Regions from separate parts of the Homo sapiens genome. Here region 2 is linked to region 1. Evidence: promoter capture Hi-C in human tissues and cell types (Jung and others, 2019). All regions are on one chromosome and are shown on one strand. Each heading gives the region's core, a stretch centred on a gene start or on the middle of the fragment in contact. The rest is flanking DNA. Distances are from core to core; before and after follow the strand shown.

What was found. The method cuts DNA at HindIII sites, captures the fragments that hold promoters and counts their contacts. A contact is called where the count stands out against the background at its distance.
Region 2: a contact is called between a fragment that was not itself captured here and the fragment with the promoter of TRIM45 in region 1, in 1 of the 25 tissues and cell types used here (pancreas).

What each region holds. Positions count from the first base shown.
Region 1 is chr1:117,118,423-117,124,523 of GRCh38, reverse strand. TRIM45 (tripartite motif containing 45) reads left to right here and starts at 2,775. Exons shown (of 6, transcript NM_025188.4): 1 at 2,775-3,810; 2 at 5,757-6,101. The coding sequence starts at 3,323. RefSeq lists an enhancer at 2,341-2,510 and a silencer at 2,821-3,010. The HindIII fragment of the contact is 5,274 bases long and covers 1,319-6,101 here.
Region 2 is chr1:117,171,247-117,177,347 of GRCh38, reverse strand. The region is part of intron 1 of VTCN1 (V-set domain containing T cell activation inhibitor 1); the gene reads left to right. Among named protein-coding and RNA genes, the nearest start is that of VTCN1, 37 kb to the left of the region's middle. RefSeq lists enhancers at 4,671-5,232, 5,233-5,795. The HindIII fragment of the contact is 3,755 bases long and covers 933-4,687 here.

The sequences.
Region 1 (6,101 bases), core at 1,526-4,025:
GGTTAGGAGAGTAGAGTATTTCAGAAGTCAAGGAGGAGGCAAGTTTTAAGGATGAGGAAGTACAAAAAATGGTAAATACTAAAGAGATTGCCTATTGAGAAAAGGCCAGCAATATGGTCACTCATGATCTACAAGAAAGTCTCAATAGGAAAGAGGGGAGGAATAAATCGGTGGTGATGGTTATAAAAAGATGATGAAAGCAGACAGTGAGACCACCCTTTTGAGAAATATAGGGGCGAGAACCACCACTATTAATACGTTGAAGGGGAGCTAGATCAAAAGACGATTTGCTTCCCCTTTCAGGACTTCATCAGAACTCTTGGCAGAAAAACTGACTGAAACATAGGAATAAGGTTTTGAGGAAGCAGGAGAGGTTGGGATAAAAAACAAAAATCTTGAGGAACTAATCTTGGCACTAAAGAATGGCAGTCAGGAGAGGTAAGAGAGGAGGTGTGAGGAATCATGGATTTTTTAAGTAGAAAGGCGAGGCAGTTCTTCAGACAACCTTGTTTTTCTCATCAATGGAAGGGAATTAGCTGCAGCATGTGTGAGGGATTTGATGCTTAATAAACTGAGAAAGGAAAGGTAGAGGTGGCCAGGCGCGGTGGCTCACGCCTGTAATCCCAGCGCTTTGGGAGGCCGAGGCGGGTGGATCACCTGAGGTCAGGAGTTCGAGAGGAGCCTGCCCAACATGGTGAAATCCAGTCTCTACTAAAAATACAAAAAATTAGCCAGGTGTGGTGGTGCATGCCTGTAATTCCAGCTACCTGGGAGGCTGAGGCAGGAGAATCGCTTGAACCCTGGAGGTGGAGGTTGCAGTGTGCCGAGATCCTGCCATTGCATTCCGGCCTAGGCAACAAGAGCAAAACTCAATCTCAAAAAAAGAAAAAAAAAAAAAGGGAAAGGTAGAGGTAGCCCGAATATAATCTTAGATATGGCATCATAAGGTTGTGTTCAAGTTCCAGATATGTTAACTTGGGCTGGCCATCCAAGACCTGGCAAGACCTCTTTGAGGCCATTTCCTTACAATATTGTTAAAGGTTAAATGAGATACTGCTAAATGAGATATTGCACGTGTAAATTATGAAGTACTTCTGAAACAAGAGAAGCTTGAAACTACTACCACAAGAAATGTGATACAGTATGAACAAGAGATGAAGTAAAGCACAGCCAAGCAGCAGGGAGGGTAAAGGTGAAGTTCAAAGCAAGAATATATAGCAAACCCAAGTCCACACAGTTTTTGTGACTTCCTCCAGCCTACTGGAGAGGCGAATGCCGATTTTGAGAGTAGATGCAAGAAGGACAAGAGGCTGAAAAAAATCTAGGTAAGGACTATTTAAAAATCTTTGGAGATATGCTTAACATTTGGAAATTACTTGCACATTTTATATAAAGGTGGCATTTGACTCATTGGCGTGTTATATTTTGGAAATGGCCAAACATTTCATTTTTATATTTTATAATGGTTTTTTTTTTTTTTTTCATATTTTGGGGTTAACTTTTTTTCAGATTCCATACTTTTAAAAGCTTAGGCTCCAGACACTATGCCTATAGCATGAAACAGATAATGAAGGAATCAAGTGAAACAGTCGCCCACTGGGTACAAATTAAGTAGGGAAGGTCATGAACAAAGAAAGCAGTGAGGGCCCAGTAGACAAGCTGACGCAACTGGAGATAACAACAGGTGGAGGGGAAAGGAGCAGCTGTTTCCATTTTTGGAATTTTGGAGAATCAGGAGACGCCTGGTAAGGCCAGAGAAGGTGGCCGTGTAATTATAAAGTTAAAGGGGTCGGACGTGTTCATCTTCCCAATTAGTTTTAAGCCCACAAAGGGCTTGTCCCTCATTGCCACCGTCCATTGTCTCACTGTGACCAGGCAGGAGCCCTCCGTGATTGACTGATAAAAACAGCGGGTCCAACTCGCTCAGCTCGTTTCTGTTACACAGGACTGTGGAATCCCGGGTGACATTCAACTCCTTAGGTCATCTGCACTCCCCCCGGACCGGAAAACAAAGCCTTCCCGAGCCCGACAAGGAGGGTGGCGCTCCCTGGCCCGGCCGAAGTAAGCCCTCCATTCGACACCTCGGCTCCACGGTCTCCCGAACCGGTCCCCGTAACGCGAGCCTGAGATGCCCTCACCCCCGAAAAATACCCAAAGTCGGGGAGCCGCGGGAGTGCTTGTACCCAGCACGCTAGGCCTGAGGGACCTGTGAGCTACAGTAAGCGCCTGAGGACAGAGGGGAGCCTCGCAGCCTCAAACCCGCGTGGAGGAGAAACGTCTGGCGCCCCCGAGCGGCCGAGACCTCGGGAGCCCGAAAAACGTCTCCCACTCCCAGCGCAGAGCCAACTGACAGTGCCATCCACCAATGGGAGAACCCAGTCTGCGTTCGTGGGACGAGTCCGAGGGCAGAAAGAAGGCCGTCCCGGCGCCAAATCAGCGTGGCTTTTTAAGAGGTCCTGAGGCCTCTCTGGTCACCACAGAGAGAGGGACAGTCCCTGTGAAACGGTGACGCTGACTACACTATGCCGCTCGCTCCGAGCCTTGGCCTTTTCCTCCCGCCGCACTCTAAGCCCTTCGGCCGCCCCGCCCACGGCCTTGTCAGGTCCCGCCCCCCGCGTGAGTGGACTGGCGAAGATGTGGAATTTCCAAAACTTATTGGATGCTTAGTGGCGTCACTCTGGAGGGCGGCGGGGCCCGGAGCGGCGAGGGCCGCCGCTCTCGGACGGTGATTGGACTCGCCGGAGTAGACCGGGCTGGGATTGGTGTGAGGAGGGGCCAGAGCCCGCGGGCGTCCCGGGCCGAGGCGCGGGAGAGGCGGTGGACACCGAGAAGCCCGCCGGCGGCTTGCAATTCCCTCACCCGGCGCGCGCCTTTCGCAGAGGGAAGGAGCAAGAGGGCCCCTACCTCATCGTGCGCGGGTGGGGTCGGCGCTTGTCGCGTGTGGCGCGCAGTGGGGCGGGCGGCGGGAGGGGGGTGGCAGTGGAGGGAGCGAGAGGTGCAGGGGTGACTTTGTTGGCAGCAGGACTAGCTGGAGAGCTAGACCTGGAAGCGCATCCGGGGAGGACTTGCGGGGCAGAGGAGGGCGTGGGCGTGTCTGGTGTGGGATGCAGTGGAAAGGAGGGGGCCCTCCTGAGTAGATCTGTGGGTGATTCCTTCGAGGACGCCTCGTCTTCCCGTCTGCCCTTTTATTTGTCAGCGAGGGAGTCCCCATGGTCTCTGTTCAAGTTCTGGAGACTTTCTCTTTGGGTGGGCTTAATCACCTGCTACTAAATCGTAGAACTGCCCAGGGCCCTTTCTAATATTGGTCACAAACGTGAGGAGTATGTCAGAAAACAGAAAACCGCTGCTGGGCTTTGTAAGCAAACTCACTAGTGGGACTGCACTTGGGAACTCAGGCAAGACTCACTGCCCCCTGTGCTTGGGGCTTTTCAAAGCCCCCAGGCTCTTGCCTTGTTTGCATACAGTTTGCACCACGTGTCTGGAGCAGCTGGAGCCCTTCTCAGTAGTGGACATCCGAGGGGGAGACTCTGACACAAGCTCTGAGGGGTCAATATTCCAGGAACTCAAGCCACGAAGTCTGCAGTCGCAGATCGGCATCCTTTGTCCTGTATGTGATGCTCAGGTGGACCTGCCCATGGGTGGAGTGAAGGCTTTAACCATAGACCACCTGGCCGTGAATGATGTGATGCTGGAGAGCCTACGTGGGGAAGGCCAGGGCCTGGTGTGTGACCTGTGCAACGACAGGGAAGTAGAGAAGAGGTGTCAGACCTGCAAAGCCAACCTCTGCCACTTCTGCTGCCAGGCTCATAGGTAAAGATGGGACACTCCATCAGGTGTAGCTTAAGAGCAGATTACAAAGAGGTGTCAAGACAAATCCCTCGGTGAGCAGATGAAAAGGAAAGCCTTCTCAAATACCGTGGAAGGTCAAAGAGCAATATAACAATGCAATAGCAAATACTCCAGTACAACAGTTAACCCGGTTAGCCTAATATAGTACCTAATATATAGCCTAATATAGCAATAGCAATAAACCCTTTCAATTTACAAAGTGCAGCTACAGTTTCCTTCAGTCATTCGTGTAGTGAATAATTGTACTGGGTGCTGGAGAAACAGGAGAATGAATATAACAGCATAGATCCTGTTCTTGATCTCCTTCGATCTTGCAACTCTTACAGAAAAGCAGGCCCTGTTTTCGCCCCCATTTATTAATTGGGGAAACAAGCTCAGCAATATTATGTGATTTGCCAAGGTCCTACAGTTGGTAAGTGTGTAACAGAACTGAGTATTAAATCCAGATCATTTTGACTACATTCCAGTAACCCATGCTGTGCTCCTAGAATAGGTGATGATGATTGGCCGGACCTCAGCTTTTGCTTTGTGTACCTTAGAGTTACTCTGGAGCTTGGTGAGGTGGGCTGGTAGGTGTTAATTGGGGTGCAGACTATGTGTTTTATGGCATTTGGTGAATAGTTTGTCAGATGGATCACTTTTGTCCCTTCGTACTCTTACCTTACCCCATCCTAGGACACCAGAATATAAAATGACCACAGTTTTAGGATTAGCCTAAAATAGGTTTCGGGTTCTACTTCCATTTGTTTTCTGGCTACACTAACAGAACAAGTTTGTAGACTTCACTCTATTTTTAACTTGTAATTATGTGATAGTCCCTGCGACTGTCTTGCTGCCAGCCAAACCAGCTAACCCTATTTTCTCTGCAGCCACTCTTCTGGTGCCAGAATAGGCATATAAGCTTCAAATTGATACAATGCTAATGGAGGAACTCTGAACAGTCACCATGTTTTCCTAAGGATTTCCCTACATCTCTAGAGGGCTACTATAGGAAAGGAATTAGAAAGAGAGCTTTGATTCTACTAACCATTGGTTTCACACTTTCTTTTCTCTTTTTTTTTTTTTCTGAGATGGAGTCTGGCTCTAGTCGCCCAGGCTGGAGTGCAATAACACAATCTCCACTCACTGCAACCTCCACCTCCTAGGTTCAAGCGATTCTCCTGCCTCAGCCTCCCCAGTAGCTGGGATTACAGGCACATGCCACCACGCCTGGCTAATTTTTTGTATTTTTAGTAGAGACAGGGTTTCACCATGTTGGCCAGGCTGGTCTCAAACTCCTGACCTCAGTTGATCCGCCCACCTCAGCCTCCCAAAATGCTGGGGTTACAGGCGTGAGCCACCGCGCCCGGCCGGTTTCACGCTTTCTAATGATGTTGACGATGTCTCTTGAAAAAAATTCTAGCCTGCTGATTTGGGTGATACAGGTCAACAGAAATGCTTCACCAAAATCTTAGATGCAAGCTAGATGAGACTTGGTGTCTGCTTTTTAATTGCTTGGACTTTATTGCTGTGTTATCTGGCATGGTTTCTGTTTCTTGATGCTGGTTTTCTGCCATGCCCTCACTGCTAGCTTACCTTAGGAAGCCGACTGTGACTCTTGTCTAAACTCTTTGGGAAAGTTCTAGCATGCAGTCATAGTCTTGCAACCTTCTGCATAGGCATGTAGCCAGCCAGAGCCCTAGTCTGTTCACACGTTATTCTATACAACAGCTCTTTCAGGTAGGTATTGTCCCCACTGTACAGATGAGAAACTGGAATCAGAGAGGTTCATGCAATTAGAGATTAGAGCAAGGAATTGAAATCAGGTTTGTTTAACTTCAGATCCTGTGCTCCTAAAATCTCTCTGCCCAACTATTCCCAACAGAATTATCCCCTTATTTCCTGTTACTGATTCTGTTTGCCCCTAGGCGGCAGAAGAAAACGACTTACCACACCATGGTGGACCTAAAAGACTTGAAAGGCTACAGCCGGATTGGGAAGCCCATCCTGTGTCCTGTTCACCCTGCAGAGGAACTGAGGCTGTTCTGTGAGTTCTGTGACCGGCCCGTGTGCCAGGATTGTGTGGTGGGGGAGCATCGGGAACACCCCTGTGACTTCACCAGCAATGTCATCCACAAGCATGGGGACTCTGTGTGGGAGCTCCTCAAAGGTACTCAGCCCCACGTGGAGGCCCTGGAGGAAGCCCTGGCTCAGATCCACATAATAAACAGTGCCCTCCAGAAGCGAGTGGAGGCAGTGGCAGCTGATGTCCG
Region 2 (6,101 bases), core at 1,561-4,060, 53 kb before region 1:
TCTACACCTTGAATTCTTCAGCAAAGCAAAAACTGGAGTAGACAACAATCTAAGCTTCTCAGAAACCTGAAACCTATGCTAATCAATATCTAGGAAATGGTTAGTTTTACCTTGAAGCCCAATGCTTTATTCCACATAGCATTTAAAATAATTCCTTTTCCCCTTTATAGGAAATACTTTTTCCCCATAAAGAAATTTCCTTTCCCGCTTTTAATCTTCTTTTTCCTTTTTTGTTTTTTTGGTTTTTTTGAAATGGAGTCTTGCTCTGTTGCCCAGGCTGGAGTGCAATGGCACGATCTCGGCTCACAGCAGCCTTCGCCTCCTGGGTTCAAACGATTATCCTGCCTCAGCCTCCCGAGTAGCTGGGACTACGCATGCACACCACCACGCTCGGCTAATTTTTGCATTTTTAGTAGAGACGGGCTTTCACCATGTTGGCCAGGCTGGTCTCAAATTCCTGACCTCAAGTGCTCTGCCCTCCTGGGCCTCCCAAAGTGCTGGGATTACAAGCATGAGCCACCACACTCAGCCTTAATCTCCTCTTTGGATAGGCTGAAGTAAATGTCTTTAATTTCAGCATTCTTTATAAACCTAGTCACCTCGTTGGTTTGTGAACAATGTAATATGTTTGCTGCAACTTGATTTACTCAAATATCCTCCTTGGTATATTCAAATAAATCACACATTTGCAAAACTAATCTAGTTTTCAGGGTTTTAAACATTTATCAATCACACGAGTGGAGCTAAACTAATGATCTATAAGGAATGTGGTATCTCCCAGTTCTGTTAGTATTTGAGAAGGAGGCAGAAACTCGAGAACATAGAAACCATTCATGTTTGAATAAAACAAAAAGCATTTTATGTTTTCCAGACTGAGCATTTTGAGCTTTCCACACTGTGTAGCAGATCCAGAAAGCTCTTGTTTTTAGAAAAGGTGCTCGAGGAGGTGACAGGAGCCTTCCAAACATGAGGCCTCCTGCCACTTTTTCTAGAAGTATAGCATGTAGTTAAGACCTCAAGTCTGTAAGTCATACACCCTCAAATTGAGACCTGACATTCCCACCTTCCAGCTGTGACAGCTTCATCTGTTACTTAAGCTAAGCCTCAGTTTCCCCACATGTAAAAAGGTAATGAGAGTAGTACTTACCTCATGGGGTTGCTGTAGGGTTGAATGAGAAACAATATAATGAGGCATTATGCCTGATAAGCATCGGCTCTTGTTATGCCATGCCATGGACCTCTGATAAATGAAAGGTTGTTTAAGAGATAGGTGTCTCTGGCCAGGCATGGTGGCTCACACCTGTAATCCCAGCACTTTGGGAGGCCGAGGCAGGTGGATCACCTGAGGTCAGGAGTTCAAGACCAGCCTGGCCAACATGGTGAAACCCTGTCTCTACTAAAAATAAAAAATTAGCCGGGCGTGGTGGCACGTGCCTGTAATCCCAGCTACTCGGGAAGCTGAGACGGGAGAATCGCTTGAACCTGGGAGGCGGAGGTTGCAGTGAACTGAGATCATGCCAGTGCACTCCAGCCTGGGCAACAGAGTGAAACTCCATCTCAAAAAAAAAAAAAAAGAGAGAGAGAGAGAGAGATAGGTATCTCTCTTCTGGTTTATTTTTTGGTGTGTGATACAGTAATACAGCCTGTCCGCTGCAGTATATGTTTCTATAGCATCAATGAGCTCATGTGTGGTTGCAAAACGGGAATGATGGCAGGACAACATGGACGTTGTGTTGGTTCACATGCCTTTTCTTTCAAAGCAAGGAGAGTTGAAATAGCAGAATAGAATGAGAACTTCAGTGGGAAAAGCTTAGCATGGCTTTCAGTTCTATTTTTATTTTATGAAAAAGAATTTTTTTGAATGAACATCTGCACACGGGGCTCCCTCTCCAGAGAAGTACATCCTACCCTTGCGTGTCCTAGGCTGCACATCCGCTTCACAGCGACCACGCCGGCTCACAGCACCCAGCAGCGGGAGTGTTTATTTTATTATATCTGTGCATTTTTTATATCCCCTGAAGTAGTTTCTGGCCCTACTGAGTGCCTGCCTTGTCTGTCTAAGTTATCTCCCGAGGTACTAGTTATTGTTTCTGTTAGTAGACTAATTACAAAGTCGCATAGGTTTCGAGCGCTCTGCCTTTAAGCCTATTTTCCCCCATAAGGCCTGTTACCTTTATTGTGAATGTGAGGCTTTTCAGGAATGTGCATATGTTTTAACAAAGGCCCAATTTCTTTCACATGCTGCAGAAGGCAGCAGCAGCTGAAGCAGGCATGTGAGGGAATCGAACCAGGCCCTCCTCAGGAATGGAGACAGAATTCCAGGCTGCAAAGCTGCTCCTTCACCTGGAAGGCTCTGGGTTCTGCAGCCTCTGAAAGCACCTTCCCAGCCCACAGCCCAGAGCACTAAAGTGCAATGCTTAGATCCTGACCCCCTGCACCCCCAGTGCAGCAGAAATAATACCTTTTCTGTGTGTTTCTGCCTTGGACAGAGAGTGTGTAACAGCATGGATCAGCTCAATATATTTCTGAATAAAGCCTTTTTCTTCACTTTCTTTGAAATTTGTTCATGGAAATGCACTTTGATTATCTCTGTTTCCCCTGGGTTTAAATTCTTCCTACCTCCCTAGATCTTGGCTCATTGTAATCTCCACCTCCCGGGCTCAAGCAATTCTCCTGCCCCAGCCTCCCGAGTAGCTGGGATTACAGGCACTTGCCACCACGCCCAGCTAATTTTTGTATCTTTAGTAGAGACAGGGTTTCACCATGTTGGCCGGGCTGGTCTTGAACTCCTGACCTCAGGTAATCCGCCCGCCTCGGCCTCCCAAAGTGCTGGGATTACAGCCGTGAGTCACCGCGCCTGGCCTGTTCATTTCTTTACTAAAGCCCTGATCACATTCTGCCTCAGATTATTACAAAGGTTTGTGTGTATGTCACGTCAGTTTAACTATAAGCTTCTTGAGGGCAGGGACCTTGTTTATATCATCTCTCCATTTCTTTCATATTGACTAGCACTATGTCTTTCACATAGTAAGTACTTAATAAATGTTTACTGAATGAGCAAGTCCTCCAAAAGCATTGATTTTTATTTGGGCCCTTTTGTAATGAGTGGGTACCAAAAGTACACTGTGAATCCCAATGCAGTGGTTAGAAGACATAGTTTTGCATTAAAAATTTCCTGCAGCATAGTTATTGGAAACCATTGAGGGGAAAGCAAAGATCAGAAAGCAATGTAAGAACCCCTGAAGTGAAATATTTTTTTCATCTTTCTAAAAAATTAATAAGCAATAGGCAAGAATTAATTTAGCTGCTCTGGTAGTTCCTGCTTCTCTTTCCAAGGCTCTGGAAGTTGAATTGTTTCCCAAGGGAATACTAGCTCAGAACAAACCTCACGGTGATTCCTGCCCTGATAGGGAATTTGGTGACAGATGGCAGGGTTGTTTTCACAGCGAGGGAAACGTGGGCCTGGTGTGATGGAGGGGCTCAGGAGCTTTGGCCGAAATGCACAACTTCCATTGTCCCCCCTCTTCTTGGCAAGGGCCCAGGTATCTGTTCAGTGTCGCTGTTCAGGTCCCCTCCCGTAAAAGTCACAGCTTTTAATAATAAACTTACAGCAATAGTTTATAAGTAAAATTTATTTATAGTAAAAAGTAGTGTATGAATAGCCCTTTCTGAATAATGCCACATTTATTATCTAATTTGATCCTGAAACAACCTTTTTGTATTAGTTTGCTAGTGCTGTTGTAACAAAGTACTGAAAACCAGGTGGCTTAGAAATGGAAATGTATTATCTCTCAGCTCTAGAGGCTGGAGGCCAGGATGGACATGTCTGCAGGATTTGTTACCTGTGAGAGCAGTGAAAGAGAATCCATTGCATCTCTCTCCCAGATTCTGGAGTTTTGCTGGCAACCTTTGGTGTTCCTTGAGTTGTAGATCTCTGCTTTCATCTTTACATGGTGTTGTGTGTGTGTGTGTGTGTGTGTGTTCATCTGTGTCCAAATTTCCCCTTTTTATAAGGACACCAGCCATATTGGATTAGGAATTAACCACTACCCTACTCTGGTATGACCTTAACTAACTACATCTGCAATTGTGTCCGGAATTTATTCCTTCTGGTGGGTTCATGGTCTTGCTGACTTCAAGAATGAAGCCGCTGACCTCGCGGTGAGTGTTACAGCTCTTAAAGGTGGCGCGTCCGGAGTTGTTTGTTCCGGAGTTGTTTGCTCCTCCCTGTGGGTTCTGGTCTCTCTGACTTCAGGAATGAAGCTGCGGTCCTTCACGGTAAGTGTTACAGCTCATAAAGGTAGTGCAGACCCAAAGAGGGAGCAGCAGCAAGATTTACTGTGAAGAGCGAAAGAACAAAGCTTCCACAGCATGGAAGGGGACCGGAGGAGTTTGCCGCTGCTGTCTGGGGTGCCCAGCTTTTATTCCCTTATTTGGCCTCACCCACATCCTGCTGATTGGTCCATTTTACAGAGTGCTGATCCGTGCGTTTACAATCCTTTAGCTAAATACAGAGTGCTGATTGGTGCATTTTTACAGAGTGCTGATTGGTGCATTTACAATCCTTCAGACAGAAAAGTTTTCCAAGTCCCCCACTCGACCTAGGAAGTCCAGCTGGCTTCACCTCTCACAATGACCCCATTAGTAAGTAAAGGCACACTCTGAGGTACTTGGGGTTAGGACTTCAACATGTGAATGTGGGGGGGGACACATGCAGCCTTTATAATAGGTAAAGCAGGAATTACTCTGTTTCCCATTTTACAAAAAAATAAGCCTCAGAGCGATGAAGTATTTTATCCAAAGTAAATGAAAACCCTAGGCCACACACAAGTCGGCTGCCTGTGTCAGTAGTCAAAGACAGCAGATGGTGCCTCTCGCTATGACTTTATCTAGCTGTTCTCACTCTCTTGGACCAGTAAGAACTGAGGCTACACTGAGGTGTGGGAAAAGAGGAGCAGTGGCCAAATATGGTCTCCCTTGGAATCAATTTAGCAGATGCCCTATTATTTAAAGCTTCGCTTGCTGCCTTGTGGCTGCACCTTATGAGGGCTTGGCCGGCAGGGGAACTGTTGTTTCTGTCTGGTGGGCCCATTCCTGAGCCATAGGAGGCTGGGAACAATGAGCCTATTCAGGGCAGAAAGTGCAAAGCCCCGCGTTTCTTTTTTCTCTCTATAGCATCGTTCTTTGCCTCCCTGTGCCTTTCTTTTGTCCTGCCTATTGAGTAACATCAGCGTGGGTGTTGGGAGCGTGTGAATTGGCAGCCGTGTGAGCGGGCGGCTGAGGACGTCTGACCGATGATGTATGCGCCAGGACAGGCAGCAACGGGCGAGCTTCCCAGGAACCACTTTGACCTATGCCTTCTGCTCTGCCTGAGTCACTCTCACGAGCTAAAGCAGGTGACCCCTCATGGAGTGCTTGTTCCCCTTGGCAAAGAAAAGGGACACGCCCCATCGGTGAGCTCCTACCCTTGGTACACTTGGAGGGAGTTGAGTACAGATTTAAGAGACAAATTCTAATCTCTGCTCTGCCACTTGCCAACTGTGTGACTTTAGGGAAGATGCTTAATCTCCCTGTGTCACTTCCCCATCTATAAAATGGAGACAATAAAATTTGTTCTCCTCCTAAGGTTACTAAATGGATAATTGATATAAGTTATACATGCTGCTTGGTTGGAACAACATGTCTGCCATATAATTCTAGCACTTAGTACATGTAAGCAATACTTCCTTATTTGTTTATTTAGTTTCCCGGGTGTCATTTGTTAATCTGTTCATTAAAAATTGGTGAGGATCCACCAGTTAGAATGCTGATAATTAAAAAGTCAGGAAACAACACATGCAGGCGAGGCTGTGGAGAAATAGGAACGCTTTTACGCTGTTGGTAGGAGTGTAAATTAGTTCAACCATTGTGGAAGACAGTGTGGTGATTCCTTAAGGATCTAGAACCAGAAGTACCATTTGACCCAGCAATCCCATTACTGGGTATATACCCAAAGGATTATAAATCATTCTACTATAGAGATACATGCACACATGTGGTTATTGCAGCACTATTTACAATACCAAAGACTTGGAACCAACCCAAATGTCCATCAATGATAG